Linked DNA regions of Homo sapiens: region 1 is linked to region 2. The links are contacts of gene promoters, found by promoter capture Hi-C in human tissues and cell types (Jung and others, 2019). All regions are on one chromosome and are shown on one strand. The core of a region is centred on a gene start or on the middle of the fragment in contact, and the rest is flanking DNA. Distances in the headings are between cores, read along the strand shown.

Evidence for each region. The method cuts DNA at HindIII sites, captures the fragments that hold promoters and counts their contacts. A contact is called where the count stands out against the background at its distance.
Region 1: a contact is called between a fragment that was not itself captured here and the fragment with the promoter of LTBP2 in region 2, in 1 of the 25 tissues and cell types used here (IMR-90 fibroblasts).

Annotation. Positions count from the first base shown.
Region 1 is chr14:74,394,651-74,401,957 of GRCh38, reverse strand. No RefSeq gene overlaps it. Among named protein-coding and RNA genes, the nearest start is that of SYNDIG1L, 28 kb to the left of the region's middle. RefSeq lists enhancers at 1-279, 1-406, 6,270-6,770. The HindIII fragment of the contact is 6,963 bases long and covers 1-6,313 here.
Region 2 is chr14:74,610,909-74,617,461 of GRCh38, reverse strand. LTBP2 (latent transforming growth factor beta binding protein 2) reads left to right here and starts at 5,225. Exons shown (of 36, transcript NM_000428.3): 1 at 5,225-6,011. The coding sequence starts at 5,518. It overlaps LOC101928352 (a long non-coding RNA gene), which reads right to left and starts at 4,277. Exons shown (of 2, transcript XR_944029.4): 1 at 4,167-4,277; 2 at 3,414-3,895. RefSeq lists a silencer at 4,595-4,914 and an enhancer at 4,542-5,169. The HindIII fragment of the contact is 13,991 bases long and covers 1-6,553 here.

The DNA of each region.
Region 1 (7,307 bases), core at 1,583-4,082, 210 kb after region 2:
GGAACGCTGCAGCAGGAAGGAACCCGGGAGGTGATCTAGTCACAATCCCTCATGCTACAGATGAGACAACAGAGACCCAGAAAGGGTTGCCAGTTGCCCAGTGTCACACAGCAAGTCACGAGCCAAGCCCAGGCCTTGCCTCACAGGCCCTGGAGTTGCTGAGCTAGGCTGGTGATGTCTGCTTGCCTTGGAAACAGAAAACCCAGGGACAACTGCCGCTGCTGCCCAGTGAATATTAACAAACTTGCTTCTCTCAGCCTTCCTTCCCCGGCTGTTTCCGGCTTCAAAGGCTTCCCCGGCTGGCCCCTCCCTGGGGCTGACACCTTGGCCCTTCTATTTTTGGTGGCTTGGTAGGGGTGGGGCAGGAGAGCGACAGCCTTGCTTTTGCCTGCCCTGAGCTCATGGCAGCCCCCGGGTGCTCTCTCATCCTCTCTGCCATGGGGGGAGGAGCTACTCTGGGCGGGGGAGTCCCCACGGGGAGACTCAGATGTTCTGAACAAAAATAAAAGGTGCTCGTGTGGCCCATCTGCATTTCCAAATACTTCCAGCCCACATCCCTTGAACTGCTTTTACCTCTCTCCCACTAAAGAGCCAGGCAGGTTTCAAAGCCAGTTCTAGCTCCTCCAGGAAATGACAGAGAAAGAAACTCCCAGGGGGCAGGATCCCTCAGAGGCAGCCAGAAGGGGACAAAGGGGACAGTGAGTGTGCTTGCACCAGTGGGCAGGGCTGGGGTGAGGCAGCAGGGCCAGGCTACGTTGACAGAGCACCCTGGGTGCACAAAGGACCTTCACACCACTCTTTCTACCACTGAGGCTGGTGTTCTTGTCCCCATTTCACAGACAGGAAGACTGAGGACCTCGAGGCCTTTCCCAGTTCCACAGATCAGTGAATGGTGCCTCGTCCTCTGGGAGCCTGCTGTGGCTCCACCCTCACCCACTGCCTCCCTTCCTGAAGCCAACTCCTGGCCATTTTCCCTCATTAACCTCCGCCAGCCCTGTCCCTAACACTTGCGCTCAGAGCTGGCTGGCCCAGAGCACAGCCCAGTGGTTAACAGCAGAGAAGAGGGGAGCCCACCACCCAGTTCAAATCCCATCCCCAGCCTCTGTGCAACTTCGGGTAAGATGTTGCTTGGTGTTTTCTCATCTGGAAAACGGGGATCGTGATGGTGACTGACCCCGTTAAGATGACTGTGAATATTACATGAATTAACACTTGTATGGCTCCCGCAAAATTGAGTGTCTCGTAAGTGCTATATGGAATTTCTTTAAAATTATCTCCAGCTGACCACCATTTAAATGGCTTCCCTGCCAGAAGTGTGTCACCTCCCTCAGCCCCATCCCTTCCATAGCCAGAGATAATAGCCAAAGTCCTGATAGCTCTGGTCCCTGCTGGTCTCTGGGCAGATCTCGGCTGGCAGCAAGCTGAAGGCAGGGCCTGTTTCCCGTCTCGCTGCCTTTGTTTAGGCTGCTCCCCCTGCCTGTAATTCTGGTATCTGCCTCCACACCCTGAGATTCTTTTCCTCCAAACTGATAAAAATAATTTTCCAAGACACGTCTCAAGAAAACCTCATTTTCTCGGCAGCTGTTTCTGTCAACTCACCCCAGCCCCAACACCAGGTAGAACTAGCCACCCTCTTTCGTGAACCACCGCTACACCTGTTCATATCGACATGACGGCCACATCTAGACATCTGCTTTTCTGAGGGTGGAGCTCGTGTTTGCTCAGGGCATCCCAGGTCTGACGTGGGGACTGCCTTCCACAGACACTCGACCCTTGTTCACTGTTGACATCACTGGGAAAGAAGTGACTTGCCTCCAGGCTGGAGGGAGTCGGGGCAAGGTTCTTTCCACTTTAATTTCCTCTTCAATGGGAAAATCATCCACATCTTGGGGTAGATGGGAGCAGGGAGGAAGTCTCTAGGTGGCAAGGACTTTACAATTCCGAGGACGATCAAAGAGACCAGAAAGAGCAGTATGAGCCCGTGGGGTGCCCAGCCTGGTGGTATCTGCAAAGGGACACAGCACAGAACTTTACCCACCTCCTCCCCTCTTTCATCAGGGATGCCATAAAGACCACCCTTCTGGTGCTGCAAGGTCTGTGCTCTGTAGGAAGAATAAACAAGGGGAACAAAGAAGCCAGAGCAGCTGCTCACTGCTCTCCTCCTCTGGTCTCCCCCAGGCTGTGGGCTGAGGATAGAGAAGAGGTTCTTCCTTGGTTTCCTCTGCACCCAACTTAGCCCCTGGGTCACCCCCAACCCCCATTGTCCAAAGGAGCCTACAAGTCTGGGTACCACTGGCCTGTCCACAGTCACCTCTGAAGACCAAGGCCAGAAACAGGAGCACTTTCCCATCCTTCACCAAGTCCTGTGACTCTACCACTCCCCAATCTCCCCGACTCTATTTCCTGCTATCTCTATCTCCAAGCCCTAGTCCAAGCCCCCATCAGCTCTTACTCAGACTCCTGCAAAACCTCCTAAATGACCTATCACATGATGCAACATGGATGAACTTTAAGGAGATCAGGCTAAGTGAAATAAGCCAGTCTCCAAAGAACAAATACTGGATGATTCCATTTATGTGAGGTACCTCGGGTAGTCACATTCCTAGAAAGAGAAAGAAGAATGGTGATTGCCAGGAGCTGGGGGAGGGAAAAACTGGGATTTGTTTAATGGGCATAGAGTGTCAGCTTTGCAAATTGAGAAAGTTCTAGAGATCTGTTGCAAAACAACATGCATGTACTTAATTGTACTGAACCGTACACTTAAAATGGGTAAGATGGTAAATTTTATGCTATGTGTTTGTTTTGTTTTGTTTTGAGACAGAATCTTGCTCTGTCTCCCAGGCTGGAGTACAGTGGCACAATCTCTGCTCACTGCAACCTCTGCCTCCCAGATTCAAGTGATTCTCATGCATCAGCCTCCCAAGTAGCTAGGACTAAAGGCGCATGCCACCACACTCAGCTAATTTTTGTATTTTCAGTAGAGACGGGGTTTCGCCATGTTGGCCAGGCTGGTCTCGAATTCCCAACCTCAAGTGATCCCCCCACCTCGGCCTCCCAAAGTCCTGAAGTGCTGGAATTACAGGCGTGAGCCACCACACCTGGCAAGAAATTTTAAACATAGTTTATCTGTTTCCTTGTAAGTACCTTAGAGCAAGCTTGTCCAACCTGTAGCCTACACAGCCCAGGACAGCTTTGAATGCTGCCCAACACAAATTCGTAAACTTTCTTGAAACATTATGAAGTGTGTGTCAGTGTGTGTGTGTGTGCACGCACGTGTGTTTAGCTCATCAGCTATCGTTATTATTAGTGTATTTCATGTGTGGCCTAAGGCAATTCTTCTTCTAGTGTGGCCCGGGGAAGCCAAAAGATCGGACACCCCTGCCTTAGAGTAGGGGAGCGCTGTAATTGACACATCTCTTATTTGAGAAGTAGTGTCTGTTGCCCTTATCAGGTTTAATTACAAAATTTGATCATGATCATATTGTAGCCTCTCAAAGTGCTCTAGAAATTGTCAGTGGTATACATGAAGCGGCAGTGGTGTCTGGTGCACTCTGAAATGCTATCAAAGTTGTACATATTTCCAAACATTTTTAAAATGAAAAGGCACTCTTGTGTTCTCATTCTGTGCGCTTTGCTATTGGAGTGACAAGGCATTTAAAGATGTTTCTGGCTTTTTTTTTTTTAATAAGGTGGTGTTAACTATCTGGTTATTGACTAGAAATCCTGAGTTATCAATTGTATATCTGTACGGTTTGTAAAAAGAACAAAACAACCAAGGCAGACTCTTGACGGCTCCTTGCTTGGCATTGAGGCTCTGGGGGAAGATGCCTTTTGGAGGGGCTGTAGCTCAGGGCGTGCACTGTGAATCTGGACCTGTTGACTCTGCAGGGCTTCCATTTAGCTTCAAGTTGTCTTGTTTCTGCATATAGTGACGGAGCATTCTGCTGCCATTCTTAGCTGTGGACAAAGAGGGTCAGCCGGCATGAGAAGTGTTTGGGGGGTTTAGTTTGTTTGTTTTAGTTAAGTGTGGTAATTTTTAAACTTTTTTTTTTTTTTTTGAAACAGGGTCTCACTCTGTTACCCAGGCTGGAGTGCAGTGGCGTGACCTCGACTCACTGCAGCTTTAACCCCCTGGACTCAGGTGATCCTCCCACCTCAGCCTCCTGAGTAGCTGGGACTACAGGCACCTGCCACCATGCCAGGCTAATTTTTGTATTTTTTTGTAGAGACAGGGTTTTGTCATGTTGCCCAGGCTGGTCTCGAACACCTGGGCTCAAGTGATCCACCCACTTTGCCCACCTCGGCCTCTCAAAGTGCTAGGATTATAGGCATGAGCCACCACGCCCAGCAGAAAACTGTTTTTAAACAAACTGTAGAACTCCTCATTATCAGCAAAGCAAGAGACATCACGTCAATGAAAGTTCAAGAACCGTCTGTATTTAAACACGATTTGTAATGTTCTGTTATTTTTTGTATGTTGAGAATGCTGAAATGTGTTTGAAGTTAAACAAATGTATTACATGTTTTAAATATTCTAATGCTATTATAAATCTGCCCAGTCTCTTTTCGAGGATGATTTTAATGCGGGGAGGAAAAAAAAGCAACCCTCTGAAATGTTCTCCCTGCCTCCTCCCTGGCCTCTTTTTAGCTACATTGAATTTTCCTGAAGGCAAATTTGGTCGAGTCATCCTCCCTTGATTAAAGCTTTCAAAGGACATCTATTTCTCTTAGATAAAAAACCAAACTAACCTGCTTATGAGCCCCTGCCACTTCACACCACAACCCAAGCTCCCTGCACCTCACCATGTCTGCCTTCCTTCAGCCCTTCACACTTGCAGGGCCTTTGCATATGCAACTTCTTCTGCCTGAAATACTTTTCCTTTCCTTCTTGGACTAATTAGCTCCTATTCATCCTTCCTGCCTTGGTTCTAAAGGCACTTCCTCTGGGAAGCCCTCTTCTCCCCAGCCTGGCCAGGTCTATCCCCATGATTGAACATCTTTGAGCCCCATGTTCTCCTTCTTCAAAGCCCAGGTTCCAGCTGTAATTGTGCGTTTATTTCTCTGAGTATCAGACTAATGTCTGACTTCTCACATTATAACTCCTGTGCCCAGGTAGGTGACAGCTTAAGCAAACAAAAACAAAAGGACTGTCAAAGACTCGTAAAATCAACTACATAAATTGAAGCATCATAATAAAAAGATATAGAGTATTTACTCTGTGCCAAACCTTGTTCTAAGCACTTTACAAATATTACTCAGTGAACCCTTGGAATATCCCTAGGAGGCTGGTTCTATTGAGATCCCTGCTTTAGGGATAAGGAAACTGAGGTCCAGAAAGGTAAAGTAACTTGCCCTTTGTCACACAGCGAATAGGTGGAAGTTGGAATCTAAACCCAGCTAGCAAGGGGAATTTGAGCACAGGTCATCCTCCTCCACAGTTCAGGCACCTTGGTCATGACCCCATCCCAACCCTCAAGCCTGATGCCACTGATCTGTTTCTCTCTGCCCTCCTCACTTCCCCCATTGCCTCTTTCCTATTCCCTTCCTAAATGACACTGGGCAGGGTGAGGGTCATGGAGAGAGGAATGTGTGTTTTAAGGAATAGCCGCTCCCTGCAACCTAAAGAAGGCCAGCAAAACTGCCTAGCACTCGTGAAGCCAGCCAGTGGATGGTGATGACCAGAAATAGCCTTTGGTTTTCTACGAAGAGGACAGAGCCATAGGAACCCACATCCCATAGGGACCCAGAACAGACACCTAGAGAGGGAGCAGGGATCCTGGGAAACAGGACCACCAGGACCTGGGGAGGGGGTTGGTCCCTGAGTTGGGGATGACAGCCAGTATCCAGCTAGAGATGTGTGTCAGTGGCATGAGTGCAGGTCCTGGCTGCCATACCCTTCCCACTGTGCAGGCCTCTGCCCAGGAGACAGGCCATTTGCCACCCTGCCCATGCAGGGGAACTGTGTGTTGCTCAGGATAGCTGGAGGGATGTGCTGGAGCCAGAGGTTTCCTGTGGATAGCTGCCTGCTTACATTGGATAAACCACGAGCAGGCAATGAAAGGAGACTTCAGAGTTTTAGACTTGGATTCCAAAGTGCCACCATATGCCAGCTACTGTGCTTATTCTTTTTTGAATTAGCCCACATTTTATAGACCATAAAACTGAGGCTCGGAGAGGTAAGTTAAATTGCCCAACTAGCAAGGAAGTGGGGCGCCTTAGAATTCATTACGAGGTCTTCAGTCTCCAGATTAACCCTCTGCTCCTCAAACCCCATCTTCCAGTAAGGAAGAGTCTGAAAATGGCAGAAAAACTCAGGTGCAGGGACCAGCTTCCACTCCTACCTGAAATAATTCTTCACTTTCTTCTTTACCTCAACCTGGGCAGGAGCTGTGTCTGGTTATGTGAGCAGGGAAACATCTCATTACTCACCAGCCCTCTGCCCAACACAGCTGGCCCCCTTAACTCAAAGCCCCCTCCAGGCCCCCTACAGGCTCCAAATCCACTCTTTTCACACTCCCACAGCCTGCAGGTAGAGGGGTGATGAGCAGCCTTCTCCAGCTGCACCATCTCCCAGGGGCGGGATGTGGAGGATTCCACACTCCAAGAAGCCAATTAAGGATCCTCATCCTGGCAGAGCTGCTGGACCTGGTGCTACTTGAACACTCCCTGCCTCCCTCGCCCCTGCTCCCAGGAGTCTACCTGGGATGCCTCAGAGCTCCCCAGCCAGGGGCCAGGCCGAGTAGGATGGGGAGCTGCCCTCTCCCTTTCCACCAGCCAGCTCCGGCCCCTGCCCAGGCTCTGCCCAGACTCCCAACTTCCTTCCATGATTAAGCATCAATTAAATACTGACTGAGCATCTGGTAAGCATAAAACAGTCTACTATGTTCTCCACAGCAGAAAGCATCTCTTTTCTGCAGAAGTGAGGCCAGTGGGGATGGCCTCTATGCTGGTCCTTGTGCACACCAAGCATGCCCCTGCCTGGGCTTTTGCACTGGCCGGTCCTGGTCCTTCCTCCAGAAACAGCCTTCTCCCAGTGTCTGCCATATCTGCATTGCTCACTCCAACATCACCTCCTCCAGGCCATCCCAGACAGGCCTGCCTTAAGTAACCACCCTGCTCCTATCCCCTGACCTGTTTCATTTTTCTTCATAGCTCCCTTCCTTCCTGACATTTGCTTACCGGTCTGTTGGTCAGCCTTCCCCTGTTTGGAATGCAAACTCCACGAGAAAGAGACTCCTAGGTCTTAGTCATGGCTGACTCCTTGGGGCTTAGAACAGGGATGGGCACATGGGTTCCCAGTAAAGATC
Region 2 (6,553 bases), core at 3,976-6,475:
GCATGTCATACCCACTTGGAGGAGACAGGCACCGGCAGACCAGGGCAGGGTGGTTGTGAATTCTTGAGGGGACGCCAGGTCATGGCACCTAAGGTGGAATGGTTCTGGCAGCCTTTGCGGGCCTTAACAACCTCACACAGGAGGGAGTCGGCACCTCTCTGTACGGCCTGCACCTTCCAAACTGGAGGCTGAGGCTGCGCAGTGCTGGGGTCCCAGCTGCCCAGTGTCTGGAGCAGAACATCCAAGCCCATGAGCGGCTCCCGTCTGGAAGGCTGGGGGCCCAGTCAAACTTTCCTTCAGCGATTCTGCCCTCTGATTAACCAGGAAATGTGTTATTTGTTCTGAGCAGGGGAACAAGCTCTCCTGGGGAGAGGAATTCAGGGCTGGAGGTCCAGTTACTTCCAAGCAAGAAAAATCCCTGGAATTCTTTCAGGAGTCTGGGTCTCAGCAAAGGGGGCCGAAATGTGGCCCTTGTTTTTGGTCCTTATTTACCAAATTAGCTCAGGTTCTGGTAGACCTCTGGCTGCCAACATTATTCCAGTGAGACATGGAAAAGCAGTGAGTTTGCCCTGGGAGTCCAGGAGACTGCTGTCCCTTGCATGGGGCATGTGTCTGGGCAAACCTTTCCCTGCTGGAATCTCTTTATCAACCCTTTAGACTCTCTCTGCCGGGTTTTCCAGAGATGATTTTCCTCTCCAGACCCAAGAGATGGGTGAGTAGGCTTAGCAGCGATCTAATGAGGGAGAAGGCTTTAATCAGGGGGTGGGGAAGTGACACACGGTGAGTCAGCGGCCATGCTGAAACAGCTTCCCTTCTTTCACTGGGCCAAGAGGATTAAGGGTGGCAGAAAGTTCTGATAACTCCACATCTCCAGGTACATGAGCTCCAGGTACATGAACAGTGGGCTGGCAGGCAGGGAAGAGGGCATTTGGGGATATGCCCTAGAGCTCCTTTGGTGGTGATAGTGGTGGGGTGGTTGGAAAGGTCATGATTCAATTGTGAAGAGGGCTCCAGGCTTACAAGCCCGGGGTGGAGGCAAGGCGGTGTAACCTTAAAAGCTTGGGCTCAGGTGGAAAATGATCCAGGTTTGAATCCTGCCTCTGCTATTTATCAGCTGTGCCATCTTGGGCAAGCCAGTAGCCATTGCCAACCTCAGTTTCCTCCTTTGTATGCGTGGAAATCATAATGCCTCCTTTGGTTGGTTAAATCAGCCAATTGATGTAACATGCTTAGTATGGCGTTTGGACTAAAGTAGGCTCTATCGATTTTGGCAGGTTAAAAAAAAAAAGCAAAACTCAAGTGTTTGTGGGATTGGAGATTCTGAAGAGCTGCAATCAGTCCCAGCAGTTAGAGGGTAAGGGAGATATGGGCAGTAAGTAGGTGGCAGGACAGAGTGTGGCGCCGGGATGGGGTAGAAGATGCCAGTCTTTGGAGTAGATGAACTGGGTTATGGTCCCCAGGCGAACAGGGTGGGAACGTCCAAGGACCACTTGTACTCACTGAGGAGTGGAAGGGGCGCCCGATGGTGAGGGAAAGTTGGTCTGCGTGAGGGTTTTGGCGGAGGCGAAGGGTGAGGGATGAATGGGCGGCAGACTTCCAGAAATGCAGACGGAGGAGACGGAGCAGTAATAATGACTTGGACACACAGGAGGAAAAAATAGCTCAGGGACGAAGATGATGCCAAGGTTTCTGGCTTTTGGAGGCCCACGGGGATCTGAGGTGGGTCTTGAGGGATCTAGAGGGGAGCTTCTGAAGGAAGTGGGTAGGTTCCGGGGAGAGGAAGGGAGCCCAGAACTACAGAGGTGGGTGGATATCTGGGCAAGGAGAGGTAAGTGTGGACCTGGGGCTTCCACAGCTGTGAAGGAGCAGCATCCCAGGAACAGAACGCAGCATTCTGGGAACTAAGGGGCATTCATGGTCAAATGCAAGGGGTAGGGTTCAAGGAGATCTTTAGAGCCAGCCCCAAAGGCAGCAAGCACATGAACCTGGATCAGGAGCTGCCACCCAGAACTCAGTTCCTCTCTCTTAAAATGGGTCTAATGATACCAGCCCTCCCCACTTGATGGGATTACTGTGTCCTTCATTCAGTTAGCTATCCATTTCACACATACTTCTTGGCTGTTCTAGGTTCTGCAGAAACAGTGGTGAGCAACGCAGACAAGATATCTGTTGCTTTAGAGCTGTCATTGTGGTTTGGGAAGTCAGACAAGAAATGATTTTATAGGTTGTTGAATAGGACTTTTCCTCTGCTCTTGGAATATCTGCTGAAGCCACAAAGATAGAACAATGAGGGCTAAATATTCTTGCATTCTGAAGAGAAGTACTAGACACCTTACTAAAGGCAGAACAGGTTCAACAGCAATCAAACTACATCCCTCAATTCCAGTCTACAAATGAAAGGGATTGAAGAAAGTCACTGAAGCATAACACTGCTGCATTTGTGGGCAGGGCTGAGATTTCCCCTGAGGGAACTCCCCAACTCAAACCAAATGAAGGGAGCTCCCAGAGAGAACCAGTCATCTGCAAGAAGAGGAGGCTCTGTCCCTATAACTGTCCCCCCACTGATGCTGACTATGTTGCTGGATGTTACAGGCACCTCGGTGCATTAAACTACAGCAAGACAGTTCATGGGAGAACCCAACATATGTCTTTAGGAATTGAGGACGTACATAAATGAAGAGACTTGTGTGCACTTCCTGTCTGGAGAATTCTGATCGTGGAGCCTCGCTGGAGTGGCCTGTGTGGCAAGGTGAGAAGTGGGCAGGGTGAGGAGCGGCCAACCCACCATTGTTTTGCCTGGCATAGGTGGGACAGTCCTATGAGAGACAGAGGATGCAGGGGTCTCCGAGAGGTTGGCCAGAGAGTAATTTGCTATGGCAACTCAGGGTGGAGGTCCTGTAGAGAACCTCCCAAAAACCCACATATGTGCCCATGAAAAAGCCAGCGCTTGGCACCTGCCAACCAAGGGTACCTGTCACATAAGACTTTGCTACTTTTCCTCTAACACCTCTCTCCCAGCCTTGACAAAGAGGAGCCACAGCAGAAAAGGGAGGTCAGGAAAACAGACCACACCCCACTCTCACCACTGCAGGATCTCTAGCAAAGGGACAGGGGAGAGGAGGACTATTAAATGGGATGTGATATTGATTAACTTGGATGAGATTTTGATCTGGACAGGAGCAGACTTTTTGTGTCTGAAAATGGGTCTTAATTATATTAATAGAATAGTTCTCGTGTCTGGTAGGGATGACCTCTCAAGCCAAGGACTCTGCCTGAGATGTCATTAAGGGTGGGAAAGGGAAATTTACCATAATATGGTTGAAGGTAGTAGTGGAGCAGTTTCTGGATAGTCCCTCTTTAGGTTCAGCCCATTAAAAAATTCAGTTACACGAGCAAACAAATCAATAACAAGATGATGTCAACTGTTTTATGAAGATGAAACAGGGTGGTGTGTTAGAGTCATGACTGGGGTGAGGGAGGGCTGCTCTAGATTGGAGGTCAGGGATGGCTACTCCAGGAGCTGATATTTAATCTGAGAGGAGCAGTGATGAGGAACTACCCTCTAACATCCTGGAGAGGAACCTTCCAGTAGAGGGAAGGGGGCATTCACTTGGCTTGTTCAAGGAGCAGAGAGAGGGCCAAGGCAGCACAGTGTGGTGGGTAAGGGAGAGCAAGAGGCCAGATGAAATCAGAGCGGGGGCAGCCAGCTAGGGTTTGTAGGCCAAGGCCAGGGGTCGAGGCTTTATTTCAACAGTAGATATTACCTGGGCTTGTCTTTTGTGTGGTGTGGGAGGTTGTGAACTGGTGCCCACATGCCAGCTCCTTCACTCTGCCTCTCTGGGAAATAGGCTGTACAAATGTGCCAGGGGCAGCCCTGTTGATCCAAGCCTTTAGGCTGTAGGGAGGGAGCATGGGTGAGAATGGTGTGCTGATTACTGGGGACACGCAGACAGCGGCAGTCAGCATTCCCACACCCCTGCCCGCCTCCCTGCTAACACAAGATGTGAATGCACACACTGGGTCAATCGGGGTCACCGAATCCCCCTCTGGGAAATTCCCGAGAGAGTGAAGGGCTGGGTGGGATCCCGGGAATGGATTCAGCCAGAGGCGGGAGGCCTAGATTCCACTCCCCTCTTTCACATGCGCTATCTCCTTGAGTGACTTACTCAAGAGGCTCCGTGTCTTTGCCTCGGTGAAAAAGAGGACCCCTTGGCCGGGCGTGGTGGCTCACGCCTTTAATCCCAGCACTTTGGGAGGCCGAGGCGGGCGGATCACCTGAGGTTGGGAGTTCGAGACCAGCCTGACCAACATGGAGAAACCCCGTCTGTACTAAAAAATAAAATAATATACAAAATTAGTCAGACTTGGTGGCGCATGCCTGTAATCCCAGCTACTAGGGAGGCTGAGGCAGGGGAATCGCTTGAACCCGGGAGGCGGAGGTTGCGGGGAGCTGAGATCGCACCATTGCACTCCAGCCTGGGCAACAAGAGCGAAACTCCGTCTCAAAAAAAAGAAAGAAAGAAAGAAAGAAAAGAAAAAGAAAAAGAAAAAGAGGACCCCTCTTCTACCGGCAGCCATCACCGCGCCAGGCTCAGGCGTGACCCTCACGCCAGTGGAAGGGGATTGAGATCCAGAGCGAAGGCGGCGGCGCCAGGGCATTGCAGCCACGGAGCGCCAGGGCCGCCAGCTCCGCCAGGGGGCGCGCCCGGGACCTCCCTGCGCTCCGCGCGCCGCGCCCCGCCCCGCGCCACCCCCGCTCCGGCCGGCCCTGCGGAGGGCGCCCCCAGCGGCCAGGGCGCAAGCGGAGGGGGCGGCGGCCCTGTTCCCCTACGCGGGCCTCGGCGCCCCTCCCGGCTTCCTTCAGACCTGCAAGGCTGCAGCCTGGGTCCCCCGATCCAAAGACGGTCCCTGAGGCGAGGGGCGGGAGAACGATTCGGGGCAGGTCTGCAGTTCGAACTTGCCCAGAGCAGGAGAAAGGCGGCCCAGTGTCCCGGTCGTGGCAGGCGCCATCTGCCCGACCAGCGCCTGGGTCAGCCCCGCGCCGCCCCCTGCTCCGCACGGGTTAATCCCCCTCGCCGCCCGCTCGCCGCCCGCTGGCTTCCCGGTGCCAAAGTGGGTGTTGCTGGAATTCCTCGCTCCCTCTCCGGTAATGAGGGGGCTGAGCTGTCCCTCCGAGGAGGGGGCCTGGTGTGGATAAAAGAGACGAAAAAGCCGGGGGAGGTTTCCAAAAATAAAACCGTCCGGGTCCCCTTCAGACGGCTGCAGGCACAGGGAGGAGGCGCGAAGGTGCAGCAGCCGTGCGAGCCCAGCTGGAGTAGGAGCGCGGACTCGAGGCTCGGGGCGCGCAGCCCTCGTTCCGCCGAGAGCCGGGCCCCCAGTCGGCCGCTTCAGGGCCCCCTAGACTCAGAGAAGCTGGCCGCCGGGCGGGGCCGGGAGAACAGCCCGCGGGCGTCCAGCGTGCCGACCACAAAGCTCTTCGCGGTGCCCGCGCGCACCACTCTCCAGCCGCCCCGCGCCATGAGGCCGCGGACCAAAGCCCGCAGCCCGGGGCGCGCCCTGCGGAACCCCTGGAGAGGCTTCCTGCCGCTCACCCTGGCTCTCTTCGTGGGCGCGGGTCATGCCCAAAGGGACCCCGTAGGGAGATACGAGCCGGCTGGTGGAGACGCGAATCGACTGCGGCGCCCTGGGGGCAGCTACCCGGCAGCGGCTGCAGCCAAGGTGTACAGTCTGTTCCGGGAGCAGGACGCGCCTGTCGCGGGCTTGCAGCCCGTGGAGCGGGCCCAGCCGGGCTGGGGGAGCCCCAGGAGGCCCACCGAGGCGGAGGCCAGGAGGCCGTCCCGCGCGCAGCAGTCGCGGCGTGTCCAGCCACCTGCGCAGACCCGGAGAAGCACTCCCCTGGGCCAGCAGCAACCAGCACCCCGGACCCGGGCCGCGCCGGCTCTCCCACGCCTGGGGACCCCACAGCGGTCTGGGGCTGCGCCCCCAACCCCGCCGCGAGGGCGGCTCACGGGGTGAGCATGGGAGAGGGAAGTTTGGAGGGTACAGAGGGGAGCCAGGGCTCATTTGTGGAGGGGCGTGCAGGCGAGAGGAGAGGGCGCCGCTCTCATACCCTCGTCCCTCTGTCTTTAGTACTTCGGGAAACAGCCCCGAGGTTCCAAAATCGGGATTGGAAGATTTGATCCGCTTTCGAAGAGTTGAAGGCAGATAGATCATCATCCTCATCCTTTCTTACCAACTCTCCCGGAGCCCCGACGTTAAATCCTTTCGCAAGGCGCCTCTCCACTCGCCCGCGTTCCTCCTGCCTGCAACTAACGAGCTCTTGTAGACTCTTGCAGCGCTGCCGGGATCTGAGAGGCAGCGGGGAGAGGGCAGGAGGGTGGGCGCTCCAGGCTCTTGACGCCCAGGGGAGGTTGAGCTGGCTCAGAGCGCGGGTTGGCGGAGGTGTCGGGGGCCCCATGGAGAGAAGGTAGATGCGTCTCCAGGAGGGGAGCCGGCAGCGAAGCTGGTGCGTCGGGACAAGTGTCGTGGGGCGTGGGTCGGCCTGCGCACGCTG